Regions from separate parts of the Homo sapiens genome. Here all the other regions are linked to region 1. The links are contacts of gene promoters, found by promoter capture Hi-C in blood cells and fetal thymus (Javierre and others, 2016). All regions are on one chromosome and are shown on one strand. The core of a region is centred on a gene start or on the middle of the fragment in contact, and the rest is flanking DNA. Distances in the headings are between cores, read along the strand shown.

Region 1 (4,231 bases), core at 331-2,830:
AATACCATGGCTGGGCATGGTGGCTCATGCCTGTAATCCCAGCACTTTGGGAGGAGGAGGATCGCTTGAGCCCAGGAGTTTGAGACCAACCTCGGCAGCATAGCAAGACCCAGTCTCTAAAAAATAAATAAATAAAAAGAGGAGACACCAGTATATTAGAGAAGAAGTGTATTTATTTAACATTTTAAATTTCAAATGATGGCAACATGTTTAAGTAGAAAGTCCTGAAAACAACTGACTAGGTCTAAAAAAGAGAAAAAGATCTTCAATCTTGGGATGCGTTGCCAACACAACATGACAGTAGATGTCACACTTAGGTTTGCAAAAAATATAAGCATTTGGGGTTCATTTCAGTATTGGTCTAATTTAAATAAATGTGAAACGAGCCTTAAAAATGTACTTTCCAGTACTTTTGGTATTTTTCATAAATATTTAGATAAAAAAGAAAGACAATTCATCTCCTTTAGACAGACAGTTCAGGGTAAGACTGTCCATAATTTTAACTATCCCTTTCCTCCCAAGTCACATTTTTGTTAGGACTAAATATATCATACTCTTGGCAGTTCCCTTGCTTGCTTTCTCCCCATTCTGAGTTTGAATTTTCTGCATGACTGAGTTCACCTCCAAACTATGAAAAATAAAAGTTTTCTCACTATTTAATAGATGTGTATGATATGGTATCACTCAGATGATATATGTTTTTATAATGGGTGCTTGACTCATTCAGGGTCATGCTAGCAATAGACTTCCTTAAATGTGATTACTGAAAGCATGGCAATTCATATCATAATCTTCATTTTAAGAAATAAATAAGGAAAACGGCCACTTAAAGCTCCTGCTGTGTTGGTCAGTCCTACTCCTCCACTTCAAGGTGCAAAATGGCTCACCTGTCAAAAGGTTCTCTCAAAACCTATTTTTATCAGAAATGAGCTCCTTATCACACAAGAGCAGCTAAGTAAATACCACAAAATACTATTTTCCCACATTTTAAAAGAGTGACTCGACTAATGGTCTGCAAAAAATCCAAGACCTTATTTTTAGGGGTAAAAAAGAGAGCTGTAGACCCAGAAGGCCGAATGCGGTCTTTAAAGGATTCCACGTAATCTGAAAATTCCACGTATATTTCTATAGCAGGATGAGAATTTTTAGCCCAGTATAGCACAGTCCTTTTTATTTACATTTGCTAAGATTACATTGGTAAGATTAATATTTCCGATTTCAGGTTTGCCTAAAGGACCCACTGCATTTATGGAGAAACTGAAAAATGAAAAAGTAGCTCCTAGAACTCGTGCCAGCGAGAACTTGGTAAATGTTAGTTGATTAAATATTAGTCAAGGATGACAAGGTGGACCCCAGGGAGGGCAGAACCGTTTCCGATGGGTCAGTGTGATTCAGCTACGGGAAAGGCGATCGCAGCGACGCGGGAAGCAGAGATCGGCGACTGCTCAAGAGGCCTCAGGGGACAGGGTGACTCGCCACTGTGCCCTACCATACAGTGCGCTCTGGGAGTCCCGGGTAAAGGGGGTCATTCCCGCGAGGGATGCGGAGAGCAGAGCGGCCGGAGGAGCGGCTAGGGATCTCGCCGGGTCACCGGGGAGGGTAGACTACGTAGCCCCGAGAGCTTTGAGAACTTGGGCTGAAGGCGGCGCTCGCCGTGAGAACTGACGCGGAGGTGCAGCTTTGCAGCCCTACAGATGTTCTACCGCGTGTGCCTGGCGCTACCGCACGGGCTGACTCAGCTAGGCAGAGGCGGAGGCGGGCGCGCGGGAGACAGAACTATCCGCGGCGCCTGCCCGTGTACCCGGCTACCGCGCGCACGCGGGGAGACACCGCCCCGTTTGCCTTCTGGCTCCCGGTGATTGGCGGTTAGACGATGGCTGGGGAGCAGGGTCACGGACACTATTGGCTGCAAACAACAGTCACTCAAAAAGTCAGGTAGGGGAGGGGCCTCCTCAGGGAGGGACAAGACTGTGAGGCTTTTTCAAGGCCGTCAGACGCCATCTTTAGCTTGTTTTTGTTTACTTGCTTTTGTTCTCTGCTGCTCACAAACCTGTGTGTACACGATTATAAGCACAGTGGCCACAAATCGGCGTCACACGTTGGGTGGTGGCCGACTTTTAGTTACTGCTGGCCTCGGTTACATTTCTTTCACATGTCACCTGCAAATTAGCAGCTCCTCACAGTTCAAAGAAGTTTCCAATACTAGGGGCCCCGAGGATTCCCAGGCAAAATCAACAGAGTTTAGTTTTGCTTTGCTTTGGAAGGCCAAGCCAACGATATATATGTGCGAGGAATTCTCTCCTTTCTTAGGAAGAAAAAGCAAGAACAGTGGATATGACCCTACGTTCCTGGATGTAGAAATCAAATAGCCTAGGAAATCAGGGATACGGGCTCTGCACTGTTCAGGGAGAGCTCTCCCTATTTTTTGAGACGCTAAAAAGTAAGGTAAAAAGTATATGTGATGACCTGTAGTGATGTGGAAAAGAGCTAAAAAGGGTAAAACTCCATTAAAAATTCCCGTAACTGGCCGGGCGCGGTGGCTCACGCCTGTAATCCCAGCACTTTGAGAGGCAGAGGCGGGCGGATCACCTAAAGTCAGGAGTTGGAGACCAGCCTGACCAACATGGTGAAACCCCGTCTCTACTAAAAATACAAAAATCAGCCCGGCATGGTGGCACATGCCTGTAATCCCAGCTACTCGGGAGGCCGAGACAGGAGAATCGCTTGAACCCAGGAGGCGAAGGTTGCAGTGAGCCAAGATCGCACCATTGCCACTGCAGCCTGGGCAACAAGAGCGAAACTCCGTTTCAAAAAAAAAAAAAAAAAAAAAAAAAACTCCCATCACTGTTGTGATCACAAAGATCACTAAAATGTGACTAGATTTCAAAGAAATGCAGGTCTGAAATTGTGGAATAATCCACAGTCGAGCCAGTATTTATTAAGCACTGGTCTGACTTGAATTGTTAGAGAATAAAAATACACTCAGCACAAGTAAGAAACCCAGAAAGCCCAAACAGGGCCACTTTTGTTATAAATTTGTACAAGTAACTTTATTGCAGTCAGTATTTAGGAGTCAAATACTGCTTGAAATAGAGTAGGATGCTAGCTGTGTAATAGAAATGCATTATTATACAGAAGTTTTGTTGTAATGAAATTTAAATTCTACAGTAGATTTTTTTTTTTGTCTCCTGGTTGTCACTGCATTTGTGACATTCCAGTTTCTCCCTCAGCACCTCATATACCTCCTATGCTTTCACTCCAATCTGCGAATACAAATTTGGATACAGATATTTTCCATACAACTTCTAATGAGGAGATAGTGATTCTGTAACAGAATGAAGTGAAAATAGGGCTCCTATAACAGGAGGTTCTGCTCTGCGAGCCTGTTTTTCTCTAATTCATATACTTTTTTCTGTGACTCTTAGAAATGAGAAGCTTTCCATTCTAAAAATGCAACATGATAACCAAAAGGCATTTCTTATCCCTTCTATTATTTGCCTTTGCATCCTCTTGGCTCCCCATCACCATCACCATGAACAGTTTTTGAGAATTACACTTGACTGGATTTTTTTCCTGATACTTTGCCAGCTGTGGAGCTTTTCGAATATTCCAACCAATAAACGACCATTTTGTCAAAAAGCCAAGAAAGAACTTCCCTTCTGAACACACCAACCAAACCACACATAAAGGCCAAAATATACACAGCTGTACACTTAAGAACGTGAGACAATAAAAAGCAAAACCACTTAGGCAAAACAGTCACTGAAGGCTTTGAACCACAGATTCAATAAATTGCCTACTCTCATTTGCCACATGGACTATATACTCCTTGGCAATTATTTAATTATTCATTATTCTGATCCTTTAGGAGCAGAAAAATATAGTAAATGCACATAGAAAGTGCCTAAGTATGCTAAGCATAGGATTTCTTCTAAGCTCTGCTTTGCACACAAAATATTTTGATCACATTTGGGAAGACAACGGAAAAAAATTCACATCCTAGGGGATACTTTGCACACATAAAACCAGATATATTTATCACTTTTGAAAATAAAATCTGATATGGCACATATACACACATATTGTACATATACACAAATAACCCCAAGTTATAACTTTACAAATTTGTTTCAAGAAACACACACACACACACACAAATGTTCTAATGAAAATGTGTGTGAAAGACACACTGTAATTAAGGTCTTTCCCCCTTCCCTAGGGAAATGAATGT
Region 2 (4,231 bases), core at 1,732-4,231, 1.2 Mb after region 1:
ATTTTTGTATTTTTAGTAGAGACGGGGTTTCACCATGTTGGCCAGGCTGGTCTTGAACTCCTGACCTCGTGATCCGCCCGCCTTGGCCTCCCAAAGTGCTGGGATTACAGGCGTGAGCCACCACGCCTGGCCTTTCAAACAGTACTTTTTAAACTGCAGGTCTCAACCCATCAGTGGGCAGGTCTCAACCCATCAGTGGGTTATGAAATCAACTTAGAATTGAAAGTCTGAGAGCATATCACAAATAGCAAAGTTTTTGTGCCTTATGGGTTGTGACATAAAATTTCTTAATGTGGAGTGAAATTTTCAAAAAGTGTACAAAACACTTAGCATTAGTAACTTAACTTCTTTGGACCTAGTGGACATGAGAACCCATATGCATTGAAAAGCCAACAGAAGTATTCAACAGGCCGGGCGCGGTGGCTCATGACTGTAATCTCAACACTTTAGGCGGAGGTGAGCGGATCACTAGGTCAAGAGATCGATACCATCCTGGCCAACCTGGTGAAACCCCGTTTCTACTAAAAATACAAAAATTAGCTGGGCGTGGTGGCACACCCTGTAGTCCCAGCTAGTCAGGAAGCTGAGGCAGGAGAATCGCTTGAACCCGGGAGGCGGAGGTTGCAGTGAGCCGACATTGCGCCACTGCACTCCAGCCTGGTGACAGAGGGAGACTCCGTCTCAAATAAAAATATTCAACAGTTAGTGTTTCTCAAGATTTTGACAGTGATCCATTCTAAAAATTAGTATGAACTAGTAACACCCCCTGTGTAATATACATATAAAATAAAATAAAAAATTTCAGGCCTGGCAACAGAGTGAGACTCTGTCTCAAAAAAAAAAAAAAAAAAAAAAAAAAAGGCCAGGCACGGGGGAGGGTGGCTCACACCTGTAATCCCAGCACTTTGGGAGGCAGAGGCGGGCGGATCACGAGGTCAGGAGATCGAGACCATCCTGGCTAACATGGTGAAACCCTGTCTCTACTAAAAATACAAAAAAATTAGCTGGGCGTGGTGGCAGGCGCCTGTAGTCCCAGCTACTCGGGAGGCTGAGGCAGGAGAATGGCATGAACCCGGGAGGCGAAGCTTGCAGTGAGCCGAGATGGCGCCACTGCACTCCAGCCTGGGCGACAGAGCGAGACTCTGTCTCAAAAAAAAAAAAAAAAAAAATCATAAAACAATATCCTTACCTAGCACTATATTATTTCCTATTTTCTCCCCCTCTCTCTTTCTTTTTTTTTTTTGCAGGGGGAGATGGAGTTTCACTCTTGTCGCCCAGGCTGGAGTGCAATGGCGCCATCTCAGCTCACTGCAATCTCCGCCTCCCAGGTTCAAGGGATTCTCCTGCCTTAGCCTCCGAGTAGCTGGGATTATAGGCGCCCACCACCACGCCCGGCTAGTTTTTGTATTGTTAGTAGAGGCGGGGTTTCACCATGTTGGCCAGGCTGGTCTTGAACTCCTCACCTTAGGTGATCCACCCACCTCGGCCTCCCAAAGTGCTGGGATTACAGGCGTGAGCCACTGGGCCCGGCCTTTTTTTTCAGGCAGGGTCTGGAGTGCAGTGGTGCCATCACTGCTCACCGCGGCTTCGACATCCCAGGATCAATCAATCCTCCCATCTCGGCCTCCCGAATAGCTGGGCCTACAGGCATGCGCCCAGACCCTTGGCTAATTTTTTGAATTTATTGTACAGGCAGGGTTTCGCCATGTTGCCCAGGATGGTCTCCAACTCCTGGGCTCAAGCGATCGGCCTGCCTCGGCCTTCCAAAGTGCTGGGATTACAGGCGTGAGCCACCGCGCCCAGCCTATTTTCTCTTTTTAATGGCGCCAGTGACCCATTCACCTATTAAATTGATGTTACGACTCTTATATAGGCCGCTACTCAACGTTAAAAAAAATCATCTTTAACATACTATTTTAATACTAGACCTCAAATCTTAGCTAAGAAGTAGTTTGGAAGGACTGGGGAAGAGAAGGTTAAGAATGACTATTATGTACGGTAAATATGCTAAGAAGCTGATGAAATAACGATAGATTTACTTAGCTACAAAAAGGCCAAACTAGCATTAGACTTCACTTGTCAGCAGTTTTGTTTTTTTGAGGGGGGCGTGGGGGGGGGGGTCTCTGTCTGTCTGAAGGCACAAAAGAGGAAACAGCAGATAGGACTAACGAGGGCTGGAAATTGGTGAAGAACCACCACGGGAGTTGAGAGATGCAGATGAAGGAAACCATGGCTAGTAGCAAGAACTAGGGCAGCGGTAACTAACCTGCCTCAGCCAAGGAAGTGAGGCTGGTCCAGGATGCCAGGCTCAGAAAGGCAGGTACTGACTGAACACACTCCCCGCTTTGGTTCCTGTAGGACGGGTGAGATACCACACCTTGGCAACCACCAGTAAAGGCTCATAGTCTAGCCCTTGGGAGGCCCCGATTTTAGGGCTGTGCTCGGAGGCGACCTACGTTAGGGACTGGGAGAAGCAGGTACCCTGGGAATGAAGAATGGAGAGCAGCGCTTACTCCAAGAATCTGAGAGACGGGGGAGTCAAGCCGCTGCTAGGCCTTCTCTATGACTGCGGGGGTTCGAATACAGTGAGACCCGACAAAAGCGACCCCATTCTGGGTGATAGCACAGTCCTGGCAAAAAAGCAGGCATGGCAAAATACCCCAGGGTCGTCAGGTGGGACCTGGGCCCCGCTCTCAAAGCCCTTCTGGGTCCCCCTATTTCCCACCACCCCTCGCGCGGAGCCCTGAGGCAGTCAGCGTCCTCCAGGCTAGGGAAAGGCGTGGTTTTCCTTCCCCACGTCTCCCGTAAGGCACTGCTGCCAGCCCAGTACTACTGCGTCTTGGCAAGGCTGGAGGTGCTCCCACCTTCACTTTAATTAGCATCTTCTTTCCAGTTTGGGGCTGCACACGGATAAATTGCTGCTCCTACCGCTCCGGTCGCCGCTGCCGCCCTCCAGCACTCTTGCCTGCAAGGGCCACTTCTACTTCCGGGTCACTGTCTGGCTCCACCCCCCCCCCCCCCCCCACTGGGTTCCGGAAAGGCTCAGGGTTGCTCCCGCGTTTCGGTTCAGTGACGTCGTAAATTGGAATGAGGCATCCAGTTTAGCAACAGCAGAGATGACGACTCTGCGATTCTGAGAGTCCCTGGCGAGCCCGGGCTAGCGAAAAGTGGGGGCAGAACGAACTACATCTCCCATCGTGCCAGGAGGCGGTCCCGCCCGTTTCCCCCTGGGAGTTGTAGTCTAACCCCCTCGGATCCAACAGCAACCTCAGTGCGTGAACTCTGTTATCCAGAAGGCCTCGCCCTGCCGCCGCCGAAGCTGGAATTCGTCGGCTAGTAGTTCTCGCCGGCAACTAGAGGAACCTGTTGGCGTGGCCCAGAAGGCTTAGCGGGATTGCACGAGGTTAGTTGCTAAGCAAGGTGGTCTTTGGTCAACTGCCGCCTGGACCAAGGCAACAGGAAGTGAGTACCTCTATTCCGGAAACTAGTTATGAACCCTCCCCGCCCCCCGTCGCCAACATTCCTTCGTTCCCCTAAATCAGCCTCTTGCCCCATTGCTCTTTGCAGGGGTAGAAGAAGGAAGTGTAGCGGGGTAAGGAATGCACCGTCAGGGTCTCTCACAACCCTTTCCCAGCTCTCCTCCCCAACAAACAGTACCTGGGATGGAGCCCTAGGGTAATCGCAGCCACGGGATGGGTCGAGGTGACAGGCTTCAGGGACCACACTTCGGCCTTTGCCCGACCTTCCACAACTTAAGCGAAGAGAGGCCACCAGCCGTAACAGGGCGTTAAAGCCCAGGGGAAGATTGGTCCTTATGACTTCCTGCCTTCCAGCCCTCAGATTCATCGCTACCCCGAGGCTAAGCGCCATGCCTCATATTGACAACGATGTGAAACTGGACTTCAAGGATGTCCTTTTGAGGCCCAAACGCAGTACCCTTAAGTCTCGAAGTGAGGTGAGCAAGCTTCTCTACTTGCTGTTTCTTGACCCCACGCTCCCGGTGGGCCACAACCAAGAAAGATGCCTGTCCTTGTCCTAATATGGTACGTTTTTTGGATTAATGAAATGGTCAATTTCCTGTTCATATCTGCAGGTGGATCTCACAAGATCCTTTTCATTTCGGAACTCAAAGCAGACATACTCTGGGGTTCCCATCATTGCTGCCAATATGGATACTGTGGGCACCTTTGAGATGGCCAAGGTTCTCTGTAAGGTAGGGCTTTCCTCATGC
Region 3 (4,231 bases), core at 805-3,304, 1.2 Mb after region 1:
TTTCCTTTCAGTTTAGGCCTCAAATGGGCTCTCCTCAAGGCTGGACCTCAAAGGCCCAGTTTGGGCCTTCGCAAATGTCTCTAACCCTTGACTTAGAGTTTGAAGATTCATTCCATTCTGGATGTGAATGCAGGTAACACCTAGAAAGATAAGAAGTCACATTTCATTAAGCTTTCAGGGTTCTCCATTATTACTCTGACCTTTGTGAGTGCCACCTATAGGGCAAACTATCCAACCTGTATGTATCTACCTAATCCCTCCTAGGGACCCCAAATGGCTGTTCCTCATCACTCAGTACCCAGTTTGCTGACGTCTACAATATTCCGCCTCTCATCATCAAAGAAGATCATCTGGGAGAAAGGAATTCCAGTCTTCTGCTGCAACCTATTCAAGACAGGGCAGGAGTAACCAAGCTAGTATCTTGGTTTCCCAGGCCTCTCTGATACTTTCTCACCCTGCTCCTCCCTTATCTCCGCATACCTCTCAAAGTGTGTGATCTTGCTGCCTGGATAGATTTCCCGATGAACAAAGTACCTGAAGAGGTCAAAGAGCTCCAGTAGCTGGTTGGCCCCTTCTATCTCACTTGTCCTGCAAAACGGTGTAAAAGATGGGATTAGCAAAGTGAAGGGCCAGGGCTACGTTAACTTATTAAGCAAAGTTAGTAAGTATAACCAGGGAAATCAACTTGCTGTTTTTCCGGGATGGACAGGCATCCTCAGCCTCTGTTTAACTCCATTGCCTTCCTATTTGACACAATTGGTGCTGGGCCAATGTTTTAGCTTTTGTTTTGAGACAGGGTCTAGCTCTGTTGCCCAGACTGGAGTGCAGCGACCCAATCACGGCTCACTGTGGTCACGACCTCCTGGGCTCAAGTGATCCTCCCACCTCAGCCTCCCAAGTAGCTGGGACTACAGGTGCACGCCACTACAATTTTTTTTTTTTTTTTGGTAGAGATAGGGTCTCCCTCTATTGCCTAGGCTGGTCTCAAATTCCTGGGCTCAAGTGATCCTCCCACCTAGGCCTCCCAAAATGCTAAGATTACAGGTGTGAGTCACTGTGTCTGGCCCCACTTTTTTTTTTTTTTTTTTTTTTGAGACATTGTCTCACTCTGTCACCCAGGCTGAAGTGCAGTGGCTCCATCTCAGCTCACTGCAACCTCCGCCTCCCGGGTTCAAGCGATTCTCCTGCCTCAGCCTCCCGAGTAGCTAGGATTACAGGTGCGTGCCACCACGCCCTGCTAATTTTTGTATTTTTAGTAGAGACGGGGTTTCACCATGTTGATCAGGCTGGTCTTGAACTCCCGATCTCGTGATCCACCCGCCTCGGCCTCCCAAAGTGCTGGGATTACAGACGTGAGCCACCGCGCCCGCCTGCTGGCCCCACTTTTTAATAGTTAAAAGGCACAGGAGAGCGTTCAAGGGAAAAAATATGTAAATACTTGGAAACTTGCACCGCCCCTATTTTTGTAGACCAGGGGTTTCACTGTCTCTTGCATGCACCCTTCAGCATTACACTGTCAGTTGTCAGTCGCTCTTCTTACCTTGAAGCAGCCGCACCGGGCACCCCAAGGCTCTGCAATCGTTTTAGGACCTCAGGCACCTCTGGGTACAGTCGGACGTCTTGGCCCCGCCTATCTCGTACAGTTCCATCACTGGAGAGGGCAAGAGTGCGCTCAGCCCTGGCTGGGTCCTATCTCGCCCCCAGTCTTCCCTGTCCCTACCTCACCTGCTCTTATGGAACGGAGGGTCTACGTGCGTGTCGACCCAGAAAGGCCAGAGAGTGTAATCTGCGAGAGGAAGGAGAGGGAAGGTTCAGCCTGGGGCGGGAGATGCAGGGATTCGGGAGCTGCTGTTAGGGATGTGGAAAAGGAGAGCACCTTACGAAATTCTCCCCTTCCCGTCCCTCACCCAAATCAAAGACTGCCAGCTTCGGTAGCCGCGCCATGACCCGCACCGCAGGCTGCGCGCAGCAGAGGTGGGGCTTCACCCGGGGCCTTAGAGAGTGCGGAACCTCCGGCAGCTAAGGCAGCCACCCTGCCTGCCATAGACAAATGGCGACTAGAGCGTCGCCACTCGGGGCGTCATCAGCCTGGAGATGGCGCAAGAGTGCCATCTGATGCTGGGCGGGGAAGAGGATTGCAGCGAGGTACCAACACGACCACACATGCAACCACAGCAGTCAAGTCTTTCTAAGGCATTGGCCACGGGCATCCTCCCTACTTCTCCACTCCACCCAGCCTTGCCCGATTCTATTATACTAAGAAGCCAGGGAAGAAGGAAAGCCTTTTCTTCTAGCACCTGCCTCTTCTTGAGACCCAAGTGATACATCACAGCTTGTCACTCAATCTTTCTGCATTATCAACCTCCTGACAGTGTAGAACCCAAAGTCCTCAGTAATATTCCAGCCATAGAGTACAGTGTCAGCCAAACCCTTGAAGGCGTTCTCCAACCAGGCCTAAATGTCCAGTACAGCCACAGTCAAGAGAGAATTCACTCTCCGAAGGTTTCACCATCCATGTCAGCACTACACTGGTAGATGTATAACAACCAGTTTGTGGGGAGGAACTGATCTGTAGTGTTTGCTAGTTTCTGTAAATAATCCTACCATGGCCAATTTCAAGCTACCAACATGAAGTCACTTAATAGAGTTGGAAAAAGGTGCCAATAATTGGCTCTCATTAGCCACTAGGAACTGGTTCCAACACACCACTAAGTAGGTTTTCCTAGAGTCTGATAATCCCCGTAAGAGCACCATTCCTTCCACTGTCCGATTCCTTCAGCCTGCTATAACTGAGTGAGCATTAGGTCCATTTTTATTTCAGTCAACTTGTGCAACAGAAGAAAGATTCCAGGAGGCCAGGAAATATTTTATTGACAACCAGGGACACAGTCATAAGAGAGGGAAGCACACAGGACTGCAAACTAACACCCAGTAGCCAGCAAGGGCCCTCTGGGCCAGGAATACTGAATCCTGGGATCCTCACAGTCTCCCACCAGTAGACATACATTACTGGGCATCCAGGGGAGGGGGCAGTGGCTATGGTGTCCCAGAGAGTGAGAGGATATATGATGCCTCATTATGAGCGACAGGGTAAAGAGGTAAAATGGAGGGTCCATCACTGCCTAAGACCACCTCCTCCTCTCAGAGCCAACACCAGGTGAAGGACTGAACCACCTAAAATCTTGTAATCAGCTGCTGTCTTCTCATCATTCCTGCAGGAAAAGGAAGCCAGAAAAAAAAGAAAAAGAAGACTTAGGAGTTTTTTGTTGTTGTTGTTGTTGTTGTTGTTGTTGTTTTTGACAGAGTCTCGCTCTGTCATCTAGGCTGGAGTACAGTGGCACGATCTCAGCTCACTGCAACTTCCACCTCCTGGGTTCAAGCAATTCTCCTGCTTCAGCCTCCTGAGTAGCTGGGATTACAAGCGCCCACCACCACGCCCAGCTAATTTTTGTATTTTTAGTAAAGATGGGGTTTCACCATGTTGGCCAGGCTGGTCTCGAACTCCTGACCTCAGGTGATCCACCCCCTTCAGCCTCCCAAAGTGCTGGGATTACAGGCGTGAGCCACTGCGCCCGGCCAGAACAGGAGTTCTTGAGTTTCCTGGATCTCTTTGGGGGTCTGTGAACTTGAATGAGAAAAAAAATCCCATCTTTATTTTTACTAACCCCCAACTGAAATTTAACATTTCTTCTAACTTTAAACATAGCCCAAAAACCACAGTAGTATTAGCAATATAGGTAACTTGTTAACAATAGCAATTAACTATTTTCTATCATGATCATTTATAGGTATCTTGAAAATATTTCAAAATTATGGTCATATTAGACCTACCATTAGATCTTATGCATTAATAAAAAAGTACATATATTACTATATCACAAATTTGTTTTAGTATTTTAATAACTATTTCAATATAATTAGTTTTCCTTTAATTCTATATATTTTGTTTTATGCCTGAAAAAATCTTATTCTGAGAAGGGGCTTAGAGGCTTCACCAGATTGCCAAAGAGTCTTAGGCACCAAAAACAAGAGGCACCCCTGATCCACCTCAGTACGTGCCCCCTCTCCTCTTCTCATCTTCACATAAGATCGCCATGCTGTCATTCTCACTCCAAACTCACATCTGCTTGCCACTGTAGATGAGCCTCTGCTGTTGTGGGGGGATTCCCTCTTTCTCCTCCACACGCTCCTTGATTCGCTCCACCTTTAGAGAGACAAGTAGTCAGGGGCT

Evidence for each region. Contacts are between HindIII fragments. The CHiCAGO score rates a contact against its expected background, and 5 or more counts as called.
Region 2: the fragment with the promoter of NEDD8 here is called in contact with a fragment that was not itself captured in region 1 in 1 of 17 cell types (monocytes); the score reaches 5.2 in monocytes.
Region 3: the fragment with the promoter of MDP1 here is called in contact with a fragment that was not itself captured in region 1 in 1 of 17 cell types (monocytes); the score reaches 5.5 in monocytes.

The regions. Positions count from the first base shown.
Region 1 is chr14:23,005,346-23,009,576 of GRCh38, forward strand. The region is part of intron 1 of C14orf93 (chromosome 14 open reading frame 93); the gene reads right to left. LOC124903286 (a long non-coding RNA gene) reads left to right here. Exons shown (of 2, transcript XR_007064075.1): 2 at 1,223-3,639. Among named protein-coding and RNA genes, the nearest start is that of C14orf93, 2.7 kb to the right of the region's middle. RefSeq lists enhancers at 1,296-1,665, 2,599-3,159 and a silencer at 1,826-1,875. The HindIII fragment of the contact is 3,706 bases long and covers 1-3,433 here.
Region 2 is chr14:24,229,386-24,233,616 of GRCh38, forward strand. It overlaps NEDD8 (NEDD8 ubiquitin like modifier), which reads right to left and starts at 2,982. Exons shown (of 4, transcript NM_006156.3): 1 at 2,865-2,982. The coding sequence starts at 2,882. NEDD8-MDP1 (NEDD8-MDP1 readthrough) reads right to left here and starts at 2,982. Exons shown (of 7, transcript NM_001199823.3): 1 at 2,865-2,982. The coding sequence starts at 2,882. It overlaps GMPR2 (guanosine monophosphate reductase 2), which reads left to right and starts at 3,544. Exons shown (of 10, transcript NM_001002002.3): 1 at 3,544-3,592; 2 at 3,834-3,955; 3 at 4,094-4,213. The coding sequence starts at 3,869. RefSeq lists enhancers at 2,846-3,711, 2,878-3,172. The HindIII fragment of the contact is 2,879 bases long and covers 1,084-3,962 here.
Region 3 is chr14:24,214,012-24,218,242 of GRCh38, forward strand. MDP1 (magnesium dependent phosphatase 1) reads right to left here and starts at 2,055. Exons shown (of 6, transcript NM_138476.4): 1 at 1,908-2,055; 2 at 1,726-1,786; 3 at 1,541-1,651; 4 at 481-588; 5 at 299-384; 6 at 1-140. The coding sequence starts at 1,944. The coding sequence ends at 13. It overlaps NEDD8-MDP1 (NEDD8-MDP1 readthrough), which reads right to left. Exons shown (of 7, transcript NM_001199823.3): 3 at 4,122-4,204; 4 at 1,541-1,651; 5 at 481-588; 6 at 299-384; 7 at 1-140. The coding sequence ends at 13. NEDD8 (NEDD8 ubiquitin like modifier) reads right to left here. Exons shown (of 4, transcript NM_006156.3): 3 at 4,122-4,204; 4 at 2,846-3,212. The coding sequence ends at 3,116. RefSeq lists enhancers at 781-1,519, 1,932-2,101. The HindIII fragment of the contact is 6,893 bases long and covers 170-4,231 here.